Regions from separate parts of the Homo sapiens genome. Here region 2 is linked to region 1. The links are contacts of gene promoters, found by promoter capture Hi-C in blood cells and fetal thymus (Javierre and others, 2016). All regions are on one chromosome and are shown on one strand. The core of a region is centred on a gene start or on the middle of the fragment in contact, and the rest is flanking DNA. Distances in the headings are between cores, read along the strand shown. Region 1 holds the start of KRT77 (keratin 77). Region 2 has its middle 14 kb from the start of KRT78.

The links. Contacts are between HindIII fragments. The CHiCAGO score rates a contact against its expected background, and 5 or more counts as called.
Region 2: a fragment that was not itself captured here is called in contact with the fragment with the promoter of KRT77 in region 1 in 1 of 17 cell types (non-activated CD4 T cells); the score reaches 5.8 in non-activated CD4 T cells.

The regions. Positions count from the first base shown.
Region 1 is chr12:52,701,269-52,707,631 of GRCh38, reverse strand. KRT77 (keratin 77) reads left to right here and starts at 4,108. Exons shown (of 9, transcript NM_175078.3): 1 at 4,108-4,740. The coding sequence starts at 4,198. RefSeq lists an enhancer at 5,866-6,035. The HindIII fragment of the contact is 9,521 bases long and covers 1,605-6,363 here.
Region 2 is chr12:52,859,698-52,865,447 of GRCh38, reverse strand. No RefSeq gene overlaps it. Among named protein-coding and RNA genes, the nearest start is that of KRT78, 14 kb to the right of the region's middle. The HindIII fragment of the contact is 2,198 bases long and covers 3,123-5,320 here.

The DNA of each region.
Region 1 (6,363 bases), core at 2,859-5,358:
TGCTCTATTTAAGGGTCAGATGAATAGCGTTCAGGGAACTCAGTGATTAGTTCAATCATAAAACTGGTACATGGGGGGAGCTGGGCTTTAACTCCAGGGGCACTTAATTGTGGGGCCCAAGCTCTTGGTTCTCTAAGCTGTCCACGTCTCTTTACTTTAGCTCAGTCATGAAGGCCTTTGTTATTGGCCCACTCTGCCCAGCAGTTGCAGGAAGAAAGGGGCTCCTGGTCCATGAAGTCTTGTCCCAACAGCAAGGAGCTTCCTGTTTGTTTAGGTGGCAGTAGAGACAGATGCGAAGGGGTTAATTATGTGTATTCTTCATGAGGAGGAGGTGGGGTTGAAAGTGAGTGGTGCAGCCGGAGAGAGAGGTGGGTTCACAGGGAGGGGTTGGGGAACAGAACCTCACTTGTGTGACTCCTTGGGGCTTGCAAAGTGCTCTTCCATATTTGTTCATAGCCATTCATTACTATCACTCTACAAAGCTGTTATTTTATATATATATATATTTTGAGACAGAGTCTCCCTCTGTTGCCCAGGCTGGAGCACAGTGGCGCCATCTCGGCTCACTGCAACCCCTACCTCCCAGGTTCAAGCGATTCTCCTGCCTCAGCCTCCGAAGTAGCTGGGATTATATATTTTTGTGTTTTTAGTAGAGACGAGGTTTCACTATGTTGGCCAGGCTGGTCTCAAAACTCCTGACCTCAGGTGAGCCACCCACCTCTGCCTCCAAAAGTGCTGGGATTACAGGTGTGAGCCACTGTGCCCGCCTGGTTACTATTTTCTTTATTTTAGAGGTCAGGAAACTGAGGTTCAAGGAGTCAAGTGTCCCAGCCATGGGGCTAGGAGGGGGCGGAGCCAGGAGTCAGAGCTGGGTTTCAAGATGCCCAACTCAAGGATCTGTTCGCCACACCACTGCTGTTTCCTGTCTGGTACTTACTGTCCCTTCTCCTATCAGCCCCCATTTTCTCAGCCAGACCCCTACTTCTTCCCCCTGCTCTGTTCTTTCTGCCTCTCCTCTGATATCTGACTCAGAATCCTGGTCTTCAGGCAGCTTTCTCACATGAACCCACCCCTTTCCCTAGCTTCACCTCTCTTTCCTTCCTCTGCTTCTACTGGTTCTCTCCTTGTCACTCTGTGCTGGAGGCTAGGCCCTGGCTTCCCTCTCTTACCTTAGGGTTAGGAGTATGGCTGTGTGGACCATAGGTGCCTAGGACTAGGGTGACCAACTGTTCTGATTTGCCCAGGTATATCTTGGTTTAAGTACTGAAAATCCTAGGCAAAGCAGGACAGCTGTCATCCCACCAGGATCTGTGAGCAGCTATTTCTGCTTGTTTAGTGATTCCAGTGCTCTGCTTTTTTCTCCCCACATGACTTATATATAGCTTTGAATCCTTGAGAAATAGACACTTTGGTTCCTTAAGTGTCTGAGAGGCTCTAGGTTCCTTAAGTGTCTGAGGCTCTAGACACAACCAGCAAGCAGCAGAGCTTCTGCCTATAAATTTCAGGCTCATTGTCTCCTCTATCACACAGTGTCTCCTGGATGACCCACTGAACAGATACCATGTACGGAATGCAGAGGTTCATGAGAAGAGGGTGTGGAAGCTTGGAATTGCCCTTGGAGCATTTCCCTGTACCAGGATGACTTTTCACTGCGGCGCCCCCACAGTGCTCTTGTTTCTACCACCTGTTCTTCCCCACCTCTATTGGGATTTCTGCCACAACTTTCTTTTTTTTTTTGAGGTGGAGTTTCACTCTTGTTGCCCAGGCTAGAGTGCAATGGTGCAATCTCGGCTCACCACAACCTCTGCCTCTTGGGTTCAAGTGATTCTACTGCCTCAGCCTCCCAAGTGGCTGGGATTACAGATGTGCCACCATGCCCGGCTAATTTTTTGTATTTTTAGTAGAGATGGCATTCTCCATGTTGGTCAGGCTGGTCTCGAACTCCTAACCTCAGGTGATCCGCCTGCCTTGGCTTCCAAAAGTGCTGGGATTAAAGGCGTGAGCAAAAAATATTTATTGCAATGAACATAAAGAAAAAGGACATTTAAAACACCAGGAAAATTCAGCCGGGCACAGTAGCTCACGCCTGTAATCCCAGCACTTTGGGAGGCTGAGGCAGGTGGATCACCTGAGGTCAGGAGTTCTAGACCAGGCTGGCCAATATGGTGAAACCCTGTCTTTATTAAAAATACAAAAAATTAGCCAGGCGTGGTGGTAGGCACCTGCAATCCCAGTTACTCAGGAGGCTGAGACAGGAGAATCGCTTGAACCCAGGAGGCAGAGGTTGCAGCGAGCCAAGATTGTGCCACTGCACTCCAGCCAGGGCAACAGTGCAAGACTCTGTCTCAAAAAAATAAGCAAACAAACAAAAGAACCTAGGAAAACTCCTCCCACAGTCTCTAAATAAATCAACTCACTTTCTAGTTACTCACAAAGTCTGTCTTATCTGCATTTTTTTTTTTTTTTTTGAGAGAGGGTCTCATTCTCTTGCCCAGGCTGGAGTGCAGTGGCACGATAAGGGCTCACTGCAGCCTTGACCTCCCAGGCTCAAGTGATCCTCCTACCTCAGCCCCCCTGACCCGTGGGAGCTGGGACTACAGGAGTGTGCTACCACACCTGGTTAATTTTTTGTATTTTCAGTAGAGATGGGGTTTCGCCATATTGGCCAGGCTGGTTTTGAACTCCTGGGCTCAAGTGATCTGCTTGCCTTGGCCTCCCACAGTGCTGGGATTACAGGAGTGAGCTATTGCACCCGGCCTTCTGCATTCTTAATTCTTATGAGTTCACAGCGCAGACTCCATCATGTAGTCTGCCCTTTCCCTTTAATATGGTACATAGTATCACAAGTGGTTGCCGGTTCTGCTGCAGAGTCTCCAACAAGATGATTTAAAATAATTGTATCCAATTGGGCAAGCCATCGCTTAGCCATTTTTCTAAGGCTGGAGAGTTTTTCCCCAAGTTAAAAAAATTATTATTACATTTTGGATGAAAGCCACAGCTATTTGAGTCCAGAGGGAAAACGCACATTTTTTTGTTGGCGGACACTGATGCTCACTGAATGAGCTTTTCCCCAGGATGCTGTCTGGGACGTGCTTCTCAGAGGGTGAGCACAGATTAGTGCTGGTCTACCGTGCTTTGCTATTGCCTTGTGGTAAGCACAGAATTTGAGAGTAACCATTTAGAAAATTATTATTATTGTTGCTATTTTTAGCAGTTAAACAATGTTTTGTTTGCTGAATCTAAAAATAAAAAAAATTTGGGCTTGCATTTTGTATATCTTTTTTAAAAAATTATCTTTAGGAGGTAATTCCTTTAATTCTATTTTACAAAAGTATTGTCTATAAAGAACCGGAAATGATAAAACAGAAAGAGAGATAGTTAGGGATGGTTTGTCTTCTGGTCTAGAAGACAATATTAGGTACTGGTAGATGCTCAACAAATCTATAACCACAGACTTTTGGTGCTGAAGTACCTTGTGTGGTTTTGTGTTTGAGAAGTCTGAGGCTTATCAAGCAGCACACAATGTGAATGACCTTGGGCAGAATCTGTGGGCCTCCACTTGTACTCAGTGACCACAATATTGCACTTCCATGTGATAAAATTTTGGGTGCTCATGGTGATGATAACTGCAGGGAGCAGAAGCAGTGTGTGGGGAGATTGGAACAAAACTTTTGCCCCACCAGGACGATGCTGTGACAGAAAGTGTTTCCACCTCTGTCCCAGCTATGGTCCTGAGGTCTCTAAACACCATCTAACTTTGCCCCAGATCTCCCAGGCACATCCCAGAAACAAACAACTCGATGGTGGAGTTTCTTAGGAAGAGATGAACTGATGATTTGGGGAGAATCTGTATAGAAGTTTCCAGCAATGAGATCCTGAGAGATTCTTGCATTCTGATCTCTAAATGGCAAGAGATGAATGATAAATGATCGAGTTGGGGAAGTTTGTCTGCAATCTGATTTCTGCAACTCACAGGTGTGAGGTTTTAAACAGATGTTGCTGGCAGGCAAACTAAACATTAATACTCCCCTTTCAGGATTGTAAAGGTGCCCAGCCCAGTAATGTGTGTGTGTGTGTATATATATAGAGCCGGAGCCAGATCTTTTCAAAGGAGTCAGAGCTCCTTTCCTCTCTGGTCTCTGCCTCCTTCCTGCCAGGCTCTTTCTCTTGCCTGCTTCTCTGGATGCTCCAGCAAACATGAGCCACCAATTTAGTTCTCAGTCCGCGTTTAGTTCAATGAGCAGGCGGGTTTATAGTACCAGCTCTTCTGCAGGCTCTGGTGGTGGGAGTCCGGCAGTGGGTTCTGTGTGTTATGCTCGAGGGAGGTGTGGTGGTGGTGGATATGGGATCCATGGAAGGGGGTTTGGCTCTAGGAGCCTCTACAATCTGGGTGGCAGTAGAAGCATCTCCATTAATCTAATGGGGAGGAGCACCAGTGGTTTCTGCCAGGGTGGGGGAGTAGGGGGATTTGGAGGGGGCAGAGGCTTTGGGGTTGGCAGCACCGGGGCTGGTGGCTTTGGAGGAGGTGGTTTTGGGGGTGCTGGATTTGGGACTAGCAATTTTGGGCTTGGGGGCTTTGGTCCTTATTGTCCTCCTGGGGGCATCCAAGAGGTGACCATTAACCAGAGCCTCCTAGAGCCACTTCACCTGGAGGTGGACCCTGAAATTCAGAGGATCAAGACCCAGGAGCGGGAGCAGATTATGGTTCTCAACAACAAGTTTGCCTCCTTCATTGACAAGGTGAGCACCTCAGGGGCAGGGAGGGTCATTGGTCACTGACCAAATGACTGAGAGAGATTACACCTTACCACCTCTCACCACATCGTGCTGTTTCAGCTTGACCTGGGACCTTAGAAAATCATTTACCCATTTGGGCTTCAATTTGTCTTCTTGCAGGGATTTAATTCCATCTTTTCCTTTTGGCAGGAAAGGAGATAAGCAGTGTTAAAATACTCAACAGATACATGGTGTAGTACCCTCATTCTCATTCATAATTATTCACTTTCCATCCACCCATCCACCCATGCACCCATCTATCCATCCCCATCCACACAATCCATTTATACACACACACACAAACACACACACACACACACACACACACATCCATCCATTCACTTATTCATCAATCCACCCAACTATCCACCCTTCCGTCCATCCATCCATCCACCCACCCATCCACACAATCCATTTATACACACACACACACACATGCACACACACACACGTGTTCATCTGTTCATTCACTCATCCATCAATCCATTCAACTATCCACTCATGCATCCATCCACCCATCTAGCCCACAAATATTTTCTAAGAATCTATGATAGGCCAGACATCGTGCCAGGTGCTACAGGTGACTAGGACACAGGTCCTGCCATCAAGGAGCCCACGTCTAAAGGGGAGAGAATTACTACAGTGTATGTGAAGTGTGTCAATAGGGGTAGTACTCTCTGGGCCATGGTAGCTCAAAGGAGGGTGTCATGAGCTCTGCTTGCTGAGTCTGGAAGGCGGATGAAAAGTTAAATGGGTTCTAATTTTAGTATATGTGCTGCCGAAGTGAGCACGAGTTAAATGGGTTCTCAGGGCAGAGGGGATTTTCAGGCAGAAGGACCAGGAGGCATGAAAGCGTGACGCGTTTAGGGAATTTCAAACAGTTACAATTCCTGGAGAAAATGGGATACCAAGGGGTGGAGGAGAGAAGTGGAGATGAAGCCACAGAGCCAGGGCAGGAGAAGCAGGCAGGGCATGGTGAATGCCCTGGTGGTGGGTATCTCTTGGGGCTAAAGTCAATAGCATGCAATGTAGGGTTCTGTCTGAGTTTCCCCTTTTGGCTCATCAAGGGCCAAGGATGGGCCAGATGGAGACACAGAAGCCCCTGTCCCTAGTTCCCTGTTGAAACTTCAGATTAGGTCCAAAGCAGCAGCAGAGGCTGGAGAACTCGCCATGGTGAAGACCTCCCTCCAGCATCTCCTTTTGTCTGGAGGTCGAGGCACAGCGGCCACTAGCACCTCCCCAGGAGGAACTTTGCCTTCAGGGATGCAGTGGGAAGCCCCACAGAGCACCAAGGCCGCTTGCACACTCAGTGACTTTCCCTCAGTCCCCACGGGAGTTCAGTGCTGAGGCCAGAGCTTGACCTGTGGCCTGACTGCAGGGTAGCTGTGGCTAGAGGCCATACTGGGTGGCAGGGCAGGCCTCTGATATCTGAGCAGATGCTGGGGATGGGACAGTGTGTGAGCGGGCGGAGGAGGGTGAGAGTGCTGAGGCCCAGAGGCTGCCGAAGAGGAGCGCAACACAGCAGCGTGCTCCCGTGGCTTCCGATCATGCTGCGTGGGAAATTTGGCTGAGTATCACCACGCTTCA
Region 2 (5,750 bases), core at 2,972-5,471, 160 kb before region 1:
GTCTGGGCCCTGGAAAATCCTGGACAGGTGTCTGAGAGCAGGACTGGATTAAACTGGGCTGCCTGGTGAACCACCATCTCTGGCTCCTATGGACTCCAGTGTGTGTATGCGTGATCGTGTGCCTGTGCGTGTGTGTGTCTGTGATCAGATGAGGTTTCTAGACCAAGGCTCAGATCTCCTCTGGGGAAGATATCAGGCAGTGGACTTGTGAAAACCCCTGAGAATCTTGCAAGAGAATATTCTGAGCCTTTCACAGTAATCTAAGGATGTGTTTATTGACAGATATGGGGGGAAAGCCTGCTTAAATTCATATGTGTAATATGATCCCACTTATGGGAAATATATATATATATATATATATATATATATTTTTTTTTTTTTTTTTTTTTTTTTTTTTTTTTTTTTTGAGACAGAGTCTCACTCTGTTGCCCAGGCTGGAATGCAGTGGCACAATCTTGGCTTACCGCAACCTCTGCCTCCTGGATTCAAGCAATTCTCCTGCCTCAGCCTCCTGAGTAGCTGGGATTACAGGCGTGCGCCACCATGACTGGCTAATTTTATATTTTTAGTAGATATAAAAACTATATTTTTATATTTTAGTAGGGTTTCACCATGTTGGTCAGGCTGGTCTCGAACTCCTGACCTCGTATTGTGATCCACCTATCCCAGCCTCCTAAAGTGTTGGGATTACAGGTGTGAGCCACTGTGCCTGGCTTTTTTTTTTTTTTTTTTTGAGATGGAGACTCACTCTGTCACCCAGGCTGGAGTGCAATGGCATGATCTCAGCTCACTGCAACCTCTGCCTCCCTGGTTCAAATGATTCTCCTGCTTCAGCTTCCCCAGTAGCTGAGATTATAGGCACCCGTCACCATGTCTGGCTAATTTTTGTATTTTTAGTAGAGACAGGGTTTCACCATGTTGGCCAGGCTGGCCTCGAACTCCTGACCTCAAGTGATCCACCTGCCTCGGCCTCCCAAAGTGCTGGGATTACAGGAGTGAGCCACCACACTGGGCCTGGAAATACGTATTAATATGAATAGATGATGCATCTATTGCAGTAGAATATACTGCTATATGAGACACATGAGTATGGTCACACATTGCATAACAAGGTCTCTGTTGTATGTATGGTGCATATATGACAATGGTTCCATACATTATAATGGAACTGAAAAATTCCTCTTGCCTATTGACATCGTAGCCATCATAATGTATCAAAAGGCATTACTCACGTGTTTGTGAAGATGCTGGTGTAAAAAACCTACTGTGCTGCCAATTGTATCAATATATAGCACATGAAATTACATACAGTACATATTATTACTTGATCATGGTAGTAAAGGACTATGTTACTGGCTTGTATATTTACTCTACTTTTTATCATTATCTTAGAATGTATTCCTTCTACTTTTTTTTTTTTTTTTGAGATGGAGTCTCGCTCTGTTGCCCAGGCCGGAGTGCAATGGCGTGATCTCGGCTCACTGCAACTTCTGCCTCCTGGGTTCAAGCGATTCTCTTGCCTCAGCCTCCTGAGTAGCTGGGACTACAGGCATGTGCCACCATATCTGGCTAATTTTCTGCATTTTTAGTAGAGACGGGGTTTCACTGTGCTAGCCAGGATGGTCTCGACTCCTGACCTCGTGATCCGCCCACCTCGGCCTCCCAAAGTGCTGGGATTACAGGCGTGAGCCACTGCGCCCGGCCCTTCTACTTATTTATGTTTTTTTTAGAGGCAGGGTCTCACTCTGCTGTCCAGGCTGGAGTGCATTGGTGCAATCATAGCTCAATGCAGCCTTAACCTCCCGGGCTCAAGTGATCCTCCCACCTCAGTCTTCCAAGTAACTGGGACTATAGGTGTGTGCCACCATGCCCAGCTAATTTTTGATTTTTTGTAGAGACAGAGTCTCACTATGTTGCTTAGGCTGGCCTCAAACTCTTGGACTCAAGCCATCCTCCTGCCTTGCCCTCCCAAAGTGCTGGGATTACAGGCATGAGCCACTGCACTCAGCAATGATCTGTTTTGTTTACTGCTATATCTCCGTTGTTAGAATAGTGCCTGGCACATAGTAAGTGTCCAATAAATATGCGCTGACTGAATAAATTGAAAGATATTTGTATATAGAAACACCTGGAAGGTTAAATACTAAAATGTAAATAGTGGCTACTTCTAGGTGACAGTATTTTAGAAGAGTTTTCTTTTTTCTGATTTTATTTTATTGTCTGTTGATTTAACATTTTTAATTCTGAATATTATTTATATAAAGAGAAGGAAGCACCACAAGGCTTAGGATCTTCTCCCTCTACATCTTTTTTTTTTTTTTTTTGAGTTGGAGTCTCACTCTGTTACCCAGACTGGAGTGCAATGGTGCGATTTCGGCTCACTGCAAACTGCCTCTTGGGTTCAAGAAATTCTCCTGCCTCAGCCTCCTGAGTAGCTGGGAATAGGGGCCTGCACCACCACGCCTGGCTAACTTTTTGGTATTTTTAGTAGAGACGGGGTTTCACCATATTGGTTAGGCTGGTCTTGAACTCATGATCTCAGGTGATCCACCCACCTCGGCCTCCCAAAGTGCTGGGATTACAGGTGTGAACCGCTGTGCCAAGCCCCCCTCTACATCTTTAAAACTACAAACTTTCTGCCGGGAGTGGTGGCTCATGCCTGTAATCCCAGCAGTTTGGGAGGCTGAGGTGGGCGGATCACCTGAGGTTGGGAGTTGAAGACCAGCCTGACCAACATGGAGAAACCCCATCTCTACTAAAAATACAAAATTAGCCGGGCGTGGTGGCACATGCCTGTAATCCCAGCTACTCCAGAGGCTGAGGCAGGAGAATTGCTTGAACCCGGGAGACAGAGGTTGCGGTGAGCCAAGATCGTGTCAATACTCCAGCCTGGGCAACAAGAGCGAAAACTCCATCTCAAAACAGACAAACAAACAACAGAAAAACAAAACAAAACAAAACAATAAAAAACCAACCAAACAACAACAAAAAAACCCTATAAACTTTGACTTTAAGAAGCCAGGCAGTGGGTGAGACCTGCCTGTTCTACCCCCTCTGCTTCCCCACCCAACATCAGCCTTCCTCAGTTCTCCCTCTCTCTGCCCCTTCTTCACCCACAAGCTTCAGCTGGCAGGGCTCGCTGGGCTTTCAAGCCACCTTAGCAGGCAGAGTCATTGGAACAATGGATCAGGCTGACTCAGGAGCTGGGAGAGGGCCCTGGGCCATACAAGCACCCTCCCCACCTGTCAGGTCAGGCCAGCAAGCAGTGCCTCTGGGGCCAAGGGAAACTGGGCTGATGTTGCAGCAGAAAGGAGTGAGGTTAGACCTGAGAGCTTCCTGATGGTAAAGGAGGCTGCAGCAGGTCAGGGAGGTCACAGAGCCCGTGTTCTTTCCTGGAGGGCAACAGGTGCACTCCACTCTCCCCTAGACGGGATTATTCGTTGCCATCTGAAGCACCCGGCACAGTGCTTGGCACTGAGAAGTGCCCAGTCAATGTCGATGGGTGGATAATAGTATGAATGAGCTTGTCTGAAGTGGGGTGTTGAGGTCCCCCTCCCTGTGTCTCCATCCTAGTCTCAGGGTTTGTTCCAGGCTGTCCATATTGCAAGATGAAATGAGTCCTGGCCTAGTGGGCTCTAGTCCCATCCTTTTTATGTGTCCTTGGCCTGTTGCTTTTCCTCTCTGGGCTTCAGTTTCTTGTGCAGTGAGACAGCGTGTTGGACGAGATGATCTGCAAGATCTCACTGCTCTGCCATTCTGCACTGGCAAGTGTTACGCCCCTGTGGGATGCTTTTGCTGTTGGCTTGCTCTAGGTGTGTGTTACTTTGGTCTTTTTTTTTTTTTTGAGACAGAGTCTTGCTCTGTCACCCAGGCTGGAGTGCAATGGCGCAATCTTGGCTCACGCAACCTCCGCCTCCCGAGTTCAAGCAATTCTCCTGCCTCAGCCTCCCAAGTAGCTGGGACTACAGGCATGTGCCACCACACCTGGCTAATTTTTGTATTTTTAGTAGAGATGGGCTTTCGCCATGTTGGTCAGGCTGGTCTCGAACTCCTGACCTCGTGATCGGTTCACCTTGGCCTCCCAAAGTGCTGGTATTACAGGCGTGAGCCACCATGCCCAGCCTACTTTGGTCTTCTTAACTAGAGTCTACGTTTCCCAAGGGCAGGCATGAATCTGGTATTGTTCTGTGTTGCCCCAGCACCTGCAGCGCTGGGCCCTCCTGCCTGGCTGTGCCCAGCATGCCGCTGTTTGTGCCCCCGAGCCCAGCTCACTCCACCCTCCCTAGCCCCGACCAGCTGTGTCACTGTCATGACCCAGAAAAGGTGGTTACCTGGAGGAGGGACCTGTGGGTTTTCCTTTTGAGGAGTAGGTGGGCTTCAGGGAAGAGCACATCAGCGGGTTTAGGGATTAGATTAGATATTAAGAGAATTTCCTCTCCCTTCCAGGATAGATTGGGAGAGATGCCTCAGTTTCTTGTTTCCCTTTTCTAACTCTGCTTTTCATTACTTCTCTCCTTTGGAAAAGTTTCCCAGACTAAACCTCTATGTTCTATCCCCAAGTCCTGACACCTAACGCTGCTCCTGTTTCTGGTCTTATTTTCTTGGGTTTGTGTGTGTTTGGGTGTGGGTACCACTTCCTCTGTCAGGGAATTTCTGAAACTTTTTTTGAACAGTGATCTCTAATAATAAATTCATTTTATATTACAGTTCTGCATGCGCGCACACACACACACACCCCAAACAAAATTTCATGGTGCAATATTACCCTTACTACCTGTGATGCACACTCATGTGCTGGTAAAGACTCATGCAATTGATTTCACAATCCACTAGTGGGTTGTAGCTTGCAGTTTTGAAAATACAGATCTCCTCTCAGATGGAAGTTCCTTGAAGACGGGCAGAACCTTACTTCCAACACCCAGGGCACAGCACTCAGATGGCCATGGGAGAGATGCTGGCGAGATGGTTGAGTGGGAGGGAGCTGGTCCATGTAATCCCCCACCCTGTCTCCCAGTCCGGGAGTTCCTGCTGCAGCTTCGACTGAACATCCTCAGGGTGTAAGAATCTTGGCAACTTTCCCCTGGAAGTTGCTCTTCACCCTCTGGGGTATTGGGAGGCTGTCCTTAGTAACAGGCCTCATAATATTTGCCAAATCAGGAGCTGTTGCTAGCAGCAGGGCACCCAACTGGCTGAACCTGATTGGGTCAGGGTTGCAGTGGCTGGGTACTAAGCCCTGGATGGGTGTGTCTGGACTCTCAACTCAAGTTCTTGTCTGAACACTTCCCTCTTCCCCTCTCAGGGTCCCCCAGAGTTGGAAGCTTTGTCCAATCCCCTTCCTCTCTCAGGCACCAGCAGTTTGTTCCTGGATGTGTGTTCCTGACTCCCAGCCTGGGACAGTCTCCCTTTCTTCACCCCTGGCCCATGGTGTGCTGGGCCTGCTTGAGCAAACTCAGGAGACCTGATTGTGTGCATCTCTTCCCAGCTCTGCATTCAGTGACATCATGGTGGCAGCTTGAAATCAGCCATGGAATATTTGCACCACGGAAAATGGCAAACACTACAGAACAGACTTATCTTCCCTCCCTGACAGAGAGCCCCTTGTGTAACAATAACACGCCACTGCCCCATCCCTGAGCAGAGTGCTGTGTGTTGCAGCAGAGTGGGAGCGGGTGTCCTCTCCCTTGGGCTCTCCCCATAGCCCCCAGCACCAGGGAAGCTTCTGGTCTCTTTGTTATACAGGAAACATGTAC